Regions from separate parts of the Homo sapiens genome. Here regions 1 and 3 are each linked to region 2. The links are contacts of gene promoters, found by promoter capture Hi-C in human tissues and cell types (Jung and others, 2019). All regions are on one chromosome and are shown on one strand. The core of a region is centred on a gene start or on the middle of the fragment in contact, and the rest is flanking DNA. Distances in the headings are between cores, read along the strand shown. Region 1 overlaps RANBP3L (RAN binding protein 3 like). Region 2 holds the start of RANBP3L (RAN binding protein 3 like). Region 3 has its middle 46 kb from the start of RANBP3L.

Evidence for each region. The method cuts DNA at HindIII sites, captures the fragments that hold promoters and counts their contacts. A contact is called where the count stands out against the background at its distance.
Region 1: a fragment that was not itself captured here is called in contact with the fragment with the promoter of RANBP3L in region 2 in 3 of the 25 tissues and cell types used here (dorsolateral prefrontal cortex, hippocampus and liver).
Region 3: a contact is called between a fragment that was not itself captured here and the fragment with the promoter of RANBP3L in region 2, in 1 of the 25 tissues and cell types used here (hippocampus).

What each region holds. Positions count from the first base shown.
Region 1 is chr5:36,261,975-36,264,674 of GRCh38, forward strand. It overlaps RANBP3L (RAN binding protein 3 like), which reads right to left. Exons shown (of 14, transcript NM_145000.5): 7 at 1-68. All of the region lies in intron 1 of LOC124900962 (a long non-coding RNA gene), which reads left to right. Among named protein-coding and RNA genes, the nearest start is that of NADK2, 21 kb to the left of the region's middle. The HindIII fragment of the contact is 4,445 bases long and covers 1-2,700 here.
Region 2 is chr5:36,300,473-36,303,172 of GRCh38, forward strand. It overlaps RANBP3L (RAN binding protein 3 like), which reads right to left and starts at 1,430. Exons shown (of 14, transcript NM_145000.5): 1 at 854-1,430. The coding sequence starts at 944. The region is part of intron 1 of LOC124900962 (a long non-coding RNA gene); the gene reads left to right. The HindIII fragment of the contact is 10,640 bases long and covers 1-2,700 here.
Region 3 is chr5:36,346,216-36,348,915 of GRCh38, forward strand. It overlaps a transcript of LOC124900962 not described here. Among named protein-coding and RNA genes, the nearest start is that of RANBP3L, 46 kb to the left of the region's middle. The HindIII fragment of the contact is 4,153 bases long and covers 1-2,700 here.

The DNA.
Region 1 (2,700 bases), core at 114-2,613, 39 kb before region 2:
GACAGCTGGACTGAAATTCTAGCCCTTGATAAATTTTCACTTAACAAATAGGAATTTCCCTCAGAAATCTGAAAGTAAAGAAATCCATCAAAAAGTTTATAAAGACTACCTTACTATAGGACCATCAGACAAGGAAACAATAGTTATAGTTAAATATATTGAAAGCTTACTATGTTTAAGTACTGCCTTAAGCATTTTATGTACGATCTCATTTACTCCTTACAACTCTAACACTTTGTAATTCTATTGTCCACATTTTACAGGTGAGTAAACTGACACAAAAAACTTAAATAATTTGCCCAGGTCACATACAGTGGCGATCTGTCTAATACCGGAATATCATAATATTCAGAAATCCCACCATGTTTTGTTTATTTTTGCCATTTTAGTCAAATTGGGTTAATTCTCATTTCTGGATTAGTAAAGCTCTTTTCAGGACTATTTAATCCTGGGAAACACCCTAAGAATGTCACCATCCTAGTCACCCAATGTGAGAGAAAACCCCACTCATCTATTTATCTTGAAATTTTCAACTAGTAACTTATCCAGTTACTTTGCCTTATGTACATATGTGTATGCACAATACCTGAATTAATATATAAATGTAAGAGTGAGGAAATTTAGAATTGGAAGGAACCCTATACATTATCTGATCTAGTATTTACAATTCCTTCCTCGACCAGGAATTTGCAAAGATGTTTCAGGGCGTTTGTGTCTTTTAAAGCCAGATGGGTTATGTTTCCACTTAAATTTTTATTTCAATCAATAAAAATAATTTTGAGTACTTTTTCTTTTTTAACAAGAGTTTGACAACTGACAAATATGTATCAAGAGAGCATGTGCCATGGTTGGCAAAGATCGAAGTACATGCTCATTACCTAGTCATTCAGATAATGTATCTCTCAGCCAAAATGGTAGTTTTCACTCCTATGTTGGTTAAAATAGTTATTTAGGCATATATTGTTTAATCTATACATAGTAAGTAACCATTGATTAATGATAGGATGAAAATAATTTATCTGATTTTGATATACAAGATAATAAGAAATATAAAGATAATGGTTCTACAAAATCCACCTAGAGATAGTTTTCACAAAATCTTTAAATTACATTCATTTGGTCAAAATTCTTACATAGGATCTTATATACAGTGTGTCTCTGGATCTTCAAAGATCAATAAATGGAAAATTTAATGATGGGCATTAAATTTTCTTTTTAATGATGGGCATATACAGTAGGGCTTTTCAATAACTGGAAATAAGGTTTATTCCCTAGACCTTATAATTTATTCAAAAATAAATATAAACAATAGCTTGAAATTTTCTCTTAAGCTTGGATCATTTAAGAAGAAAATGGAAGAAATATATTAATAAATTTTATTTTAAAATATGCAATGCAATATTTACAAAAATTCTGCCAAGAAAGAAATATTGATGTATTTTTGATGTCATAACATGTAATTAAAATCTTGCTCTATATTTATAGTGCATGCCATTTTAAAATCAAATGCAATATAACTTTTTAGAAATTAGTCAACATATTATACTTTCTATTACATAATTTAAAACAAGTTAAACACCATGCATCACTTCTTTTTTCTCTTTTCTTTTTTGAGACAGTCTGGCTCTGTCACCAGGCTGGTACCATCTCGGTTCACTGCAACCTCCACTTCCCGGGTTCAAGCTAGGACTACAGGCACATGCCACCATGCCCAGCTAATTTTTGTATTTTTTGTAAAGACAGTGTTTTACTATATTGCCTAGGCTTGTCTGGAACGTTTTAGCTCAAGAGATCCACTCATCTCGGCCTCCCGAAGTGCTAGGATTAAAAGAGTGAGCCACCACGCCTGGCCACTTCACTTCTTAAATAAAAGTAAGGAATTATGTAACATGGTGATAATTATTACATTATATTTAAGTGAAAACAATAATATACTTATCTAAAATTGAAGACATGTTTTACTTAAAAATTACTTATATAGCATGCATAAATGATGAAATGATTTTTTAAATTCATAATGGATCTCTCCAAATAATATCTTACAAAGTAAAGAGTTTAGGAATATAAAAATATTGGAAAGTGCTGATCAAGTTCAAGTCCCTTACTTTGCTGATATAAAAAGATGTTGAATGGGTGCTTTGTTTAGATAAACAAAGATAGCAGCAGAGGCAAGATTAGTACCAATCTGGTATTTTTTTACACTTCCGTGTTTCTGTCCTTATGTTCACTAAGGGAAAACAAAGCGAAACTATGTGACCAATCCTCAGTAGTTCAGCTGGAAACAAATGGCTAAGATGGAATAACTCTCAAATTCCAACCTACCTATCTTGAGTCCTATTCCTCCTGTGTCTGCTTCTGCTGGAAGACAGGTAGCACTACAGCAATTGAATATATCCCCAAACCCATATCTGCACGGCTTGTGTAAGTTACTGTCTGTTTAGAAAGGCCTACAAAGAGTGATTCAGACACTACATAGTTGGAAGTTAGAATTCTTATCTGTCTCTAGAGGCTTCCCAAACCCTCCCAACTACACTGTATAGGGAGTTCTCTGCTCCTGTTATACTGGAATTTGGCTCTGAAATGAACCTCTGGTATGACCTAAACTGGCAACGATACACTGTGATGTTGACCAGTTGGCGATGTAGAGAAAATCCCTGCCTCTTTTTTGACTACTGACTCTGGCCCCTGGCTCCCTCATTG
Region 2 (2,700 bases), core at 180-2,679:
TGAAATCTAAAACTGCGTCTACAGAAAAATAATTAAAGAGCTCATTGCCTAGACCTACACATAAAAAGATCTATCCTAGGTTATTGAGGAGAAGTTAGAAGTGTCTGGTGAATCCTTAACCTCTGTGGAGTGATGATGTCATCCATGAGAGACCCAGCCTTTCCCACAAGTGTCATTTGCTGTCCCTGACAGGGTGGATTGGAGGGATCATCTTGTCTATTCATGTCAACCATCTGACACTAACTCAGCTGGCTGGAGAGTGGATTTGAAAATTTAAAAAGACTGATGGTGAAAATGGCTGGGAGGTAGATAGTTTAGTTTGAATGAGTGCCCAGCAAGTGAAATGTGACACTTTTCCCTGACTGTCTCCAGATGTCCCTGGACCATAAAAAGGAAAGAGTCAAGAATATATTTATTTTTCCCACAATGAATGAGCCAGAGATCCAGACAAACTTAGGCTTAAACAAAGTGAAAAAAGTGTCCCACCAGTGGTACTATGGTAGAGAAAGCTCCAGGCTAACTTAAAGCTACTCTCAGCTGAAATCCCCCTTGTAGCTGACTCAGCCTTGCTCAGATGGGTGTTTTGAATTAGACAAAATCTAGCATACTCTAAAAAACACAGTGGCTAGAAGTTTAAGCATGTAAGTTTCAGAATGACAGCTCCAAGGAATATGCATTCTTGACAGTCTTCCATAGTCCTCTAAAAATCAATAGTGAATCCAAGTTAACCCACCCTTATGCATCACTATTATGTCAGAGCTTCCCCGGGTCCTTCACCAGCCCACCATTCTTCCTGGAATGCAAATGCACAGAAGGTCACAGAATATGCAACTCATGAGCTGGACGGACTCACCTTGCTGTCGCCGGTCCTCCTGCAGCTTCAGTTTACAGGTGTGCAAACTGCCAGGCAGGTGGCTGCTGCCTTTTCTTGGTATGGTAGTCATGGTCCTAGCAGTATGGCTGTGACTCAAGGATCACTAGGGCACCTCCTTCTCTGGCCAGTCACCTAAAGTGGCCTTCACCAGACACCCAGAAATACATAGATTCATGCAGATCTTGTCTTTGCATGTACAACATATACTCCTCTACTAAACTTCCAAGCTTTTTCCAGTCATGATTCTTGAAATAAATAATCACCAATGTTACTTCTCCTAAATATAAAGATGCCAATTCATTTGGTTAAAAACACAACTTAATTCCTTCATTTCAAAACAAATTGAAACTAAACCTCCTTATAGAGTAAAATTCTACAAATTAACTATTTCTAACAGATTACACTTTTGTCATTTTTAAATTCCTTTTGGCGACATGAAATCCAATGCCTCCAGTATTTAGAGAAGGCTGCTAAAATAATACAGACACAAAGAAAAGAAAAAGTGCTGCTGAGTTAAGTCAAGTGATTTCTAAGCCTGATCTGAGTTACCCTCTGTGACAGCTGAAAGTGTACAGTTCTTAAGGGACTCTGGAAGGAGGAGGAGCAAAGTGGGCTAGGATGATTAGCATAAAGAGGCAGGCAAGACGGGCATTGGAGCTGCTTTGAATAATAGTGAACAAAGCACAGATTCTAAAGATGCCCTGCCCTTATGTTACAGTAACTGAGTACCTGATTTCTGCTACTTTGTTTGTAATTAAAATGCAAGCTGAAAGCAGGAGTTTATACTGCAAGGACATTCATTTGTGCATGTGAAATCTAAAAGGTATAAATGGAACTGGTAATGAGCTCATGGAAATGTACTGCTGGAACTTTCAATTTCTGTAAACACCTCCTAGTCTTCGGAAGGGAGCAGTTAGAGGGCAGCCTTCCTGCCAAGGCAACTATTTGGAGTTCTGGAAGAAAAATAAACACACAAAACATTATCTTTCCAGAGTCCTATTTCTGTTTCCCACTTAGAGTTCTTATTGCTACTTCTAGGTCATAGGAGAAAGTAATTTCCAGTTTTACTCGTTGGCTATTTCCTTACTGTTTGGAAACATAAACCCCAAACACCATTAATTTAACTTGAGAGCTTGCCATAACTGAAGTCATAATGAATGCTGGTAGGTCCTGCCCTTCAAGAGTCACAGCTCTTCGCAGATTCAGAAAGAAGGTAGTGGGCAGGACTAAGGAGAAAGGCAGAGCTGTTTAGCCTCGAAGTCTGGACTCTGCAGCTTCTTATGTGCATTTGGAAATTGGTGTTAAACTTGACACTGTAATGAATTTACCTCCTAACCAGATCTGGGTGGCTGCCCTCATTTTACTTTGAGGCAATTAACAATTCCCCAAGTATAGTCTGGTTTATGAAAATTTTTATGAAGTAGGTGATTGATCTTTTATAATTCTTGAATGCTTTAATTGTTTCAGTAGTCTATCTACTGCAGTTTTAGGCTAATCACAGTGTAACAGATGACAGAAGTGTTGTGCTACTTTGAAAGAGAGTCTTGTTATTGGAGAGTCATAGTTTCTACTTTAAATGTCTGCTATTCATCTCATCTTCCACAAAAGCCATGGTGGAGAGACAAGGTGATTTTTCCTGAATATGTAAAGTTATTGTTATTCTATCAAGTTATGTACCTCACTAATAAGCATATTATTATACAGGTAAGTTAAATAACCTACAAAACTGTAAGCCAGCCCTTTTGAGAAATACATTTAAAATGTTTTATGATGAAAAAATTTAAAAATACATGAATAGGAGAGAATAGCACAATAAGCCCTGCATA
Region 3 (2,700 bases), core at 108-2,607, 46 kb after region 2:
ACTTAAAAAAAAACAGCAAATGTGTCTTCACACCTTAATTTTAGCTGCTAAATTTTATTGACCAAATGGTTTTATTTAATGCTTTTGCATTACATCTTTAAGTACAGTTTCTCCAGGTATTTTCTTTTCCAGGAAAAATAGGTGGAAATTTTGCCTTTGTCTCATTTTAATAAGATTAGCTGCAAGCCTGTATAAAACGCCCATTTTGCTGTTGTTATCAGGAAAATGTAATGCCCTGGATTCTAAATATTAAACTAAGAAAGACTGTAAGGCAGAACATGCATTTTACACAGCTTCAATTACTGACTGCCTTCTGCTTGTGCTGGGGCAACACCTTTTGCCCCATCTTTCTCTGGCTGTTGACCAGAAGCAGGAAGTACAGAGATACATTTTAGTGATGAAGGAAAGGGGCTGCATCAAGGGTGTCTTCAGGCCTTAAAAATATTTTTGACCGCATAAATTCTCATTTCATCTAAACAGGTTTCTCACAGACCTCTCAAAGAAGTCTAAAAAGCCATTCTAGCAGAGGTAATGTCAACATATTCAATTGTAAATAAACTCTGAATGTGAAGTATATGAATGAATCATTGCTTTGTCATTTGTTTTGTGAAGTTCACTTTTCAGAAAATATTATTATATTGAGGTTTACCTTGTCCAAACTCAAAGACCTGAAGACATTCTAACAAAGCTATTGACTATTTCCCTTTGCCCTTAGCATATATTACAATGACTTTGGCTCTTTAGACTTGTACATGCCGGCATATAATTTATAAGTTGCTAGAATTCAGTTTTTCTTTACCAAATTAAGTATGTTTATACTAGAGATAAGAAAAATAAAGCTTACCAGAAAAGCATGGTCTTTTTCATATTTTTCCAGCTGTCTCTGTCAGAACTCACTGCCCGTTGCTTGAAACAACATCTTTCTTCCTGGCTGTGAGCTCCTGAGATGTTGGATTTGCTGTTTATATAATCTTTTATTCAAAACATCAAGAACTACATCTTTGGGCAATTTTTAAAAATTAAGGATACAGCAGTAAGCAGACAAAGTCCCTGCTCTTTGGAGCTTTCTTTAGATGATGAGTGTGAAGTAATGTAAATAATCAACCATACATTAGGAAGGGGTTCATATGTACTCAGTTCTGTCCTAGGGACTGTATTAGTCCATTTGAGCTGCTATAACACACACACCATAAACTGGGTGACTTAAACAACAAACACTTATTTATCACAGTTCTGCAGACTGGGAAATCCAAGATCAAGGTGCTGGCAGATTTAATGTCTGTCGAGGGCCTGCTTCCTGGCTTGCAGATGGCAGTCTTCTCACTGCCATGATGTAATTATTAGGTTGTTGCAAAAGTAATTTCGGTTTTAGCAATTTTTAAAAGTAATATCTCCCCAAAGCCCCACCTCCAAATGCCATCGCCCTGGGGATTAGGCCTCAACATATGAAGTTAGGGTGTGGGTGACACAGCATTCAGTCCGTAGTAGGGAGCCTTGTGGAGTGGAAGGATCCAGGTTCCTTAGGACTAGAGTGGCAGACAAGCTTTTGCTGGGACTTCAGCTGGTGTCTCACTTTTGTAACACTGTTTTCATCTCACAGGGTAGGGACCACAACAGAGACAAGCTGGGCTGCAGCGCTCATAAACTGATTCCAGGCAGATTCTCTTTAAGCGTGTTTTACCTTTCTTTCTTTAAACCAGCCCTTACCTGTTTACTGGAGAAAAACTTCTTTCCTTTCTCTTTTATTCTTCACTTCCCTCTTGATTTCATTTCATTTCACCTACTGATGGCTTTTAAACATTAGAGTAGTATGAATAAAACATTTTAAAGCCCAAATAAAATCTGTGTTTTGAAATAAAATTAGCTAAAATTAATAAACAGTGACAGCAACCTCACCAAAAAGCCCTGACAGGCATGTAGAATTCTCCTTAAGGAAGTCTCCATCTGACTCCTTATCATACTTTCATTGGCTCCCCTCTTCCCCAAGTTGACCACTTAAATCAACCTGCAGACTTACCCAGTTTTCATTCCAGAACATGACCAATTCAGACAGTATTTAAGGATTTAAGAAATTCTAGCCACCTCTCTCCACCCAGGACTCAGCCTGAAGTCATATTTTACTGATGAATGAAAATAAATATCATTAGGCTAAGGTCTGGGGTGTATATTATTATTATTGTTGTTATTTTTAGAAGTATGCTATAATAAAGAATGTTTCTTTTTTTTTTTTTTTTTTTTTTTTTTTGAGACGGAGTCTCGCTGTCGCCCAGGTTGGAGTGCAGTGGCGCGATCTCGGCTCACTGCAGGCTCCGCCTCCCGGGTTCACGCCATTCTCCTGCCTCAGCCTCCCGAGTAGCTGGGACTACAGGTGCCCGCCACCTCGCCCGGCTAATTTTTTGTATTTTTAGTAGAGATGGGGTTTCACCGTGTTAGCCAGTATGGTCTCGATCTCCTGACCTCGTGATCCGCCCACCTCGGCCTCCCAAAGTGCTGGGATTACAGGCGTGAGCCACCGCGCCCAGCCAAGAATGTTTCTTAAAATAAGACTCTAACCAAACTTAGGATCATTTGCTGAGTTTCTTTAAAATGCCTATGTCTGGGCCTCACATCATATGGTTCAAAATTGCTGGGGTTGAGACCTGGAAATCTGTATTTTAATAGCATCCTATGCATTTCTGATACACACTCAAGTTTTGAGAT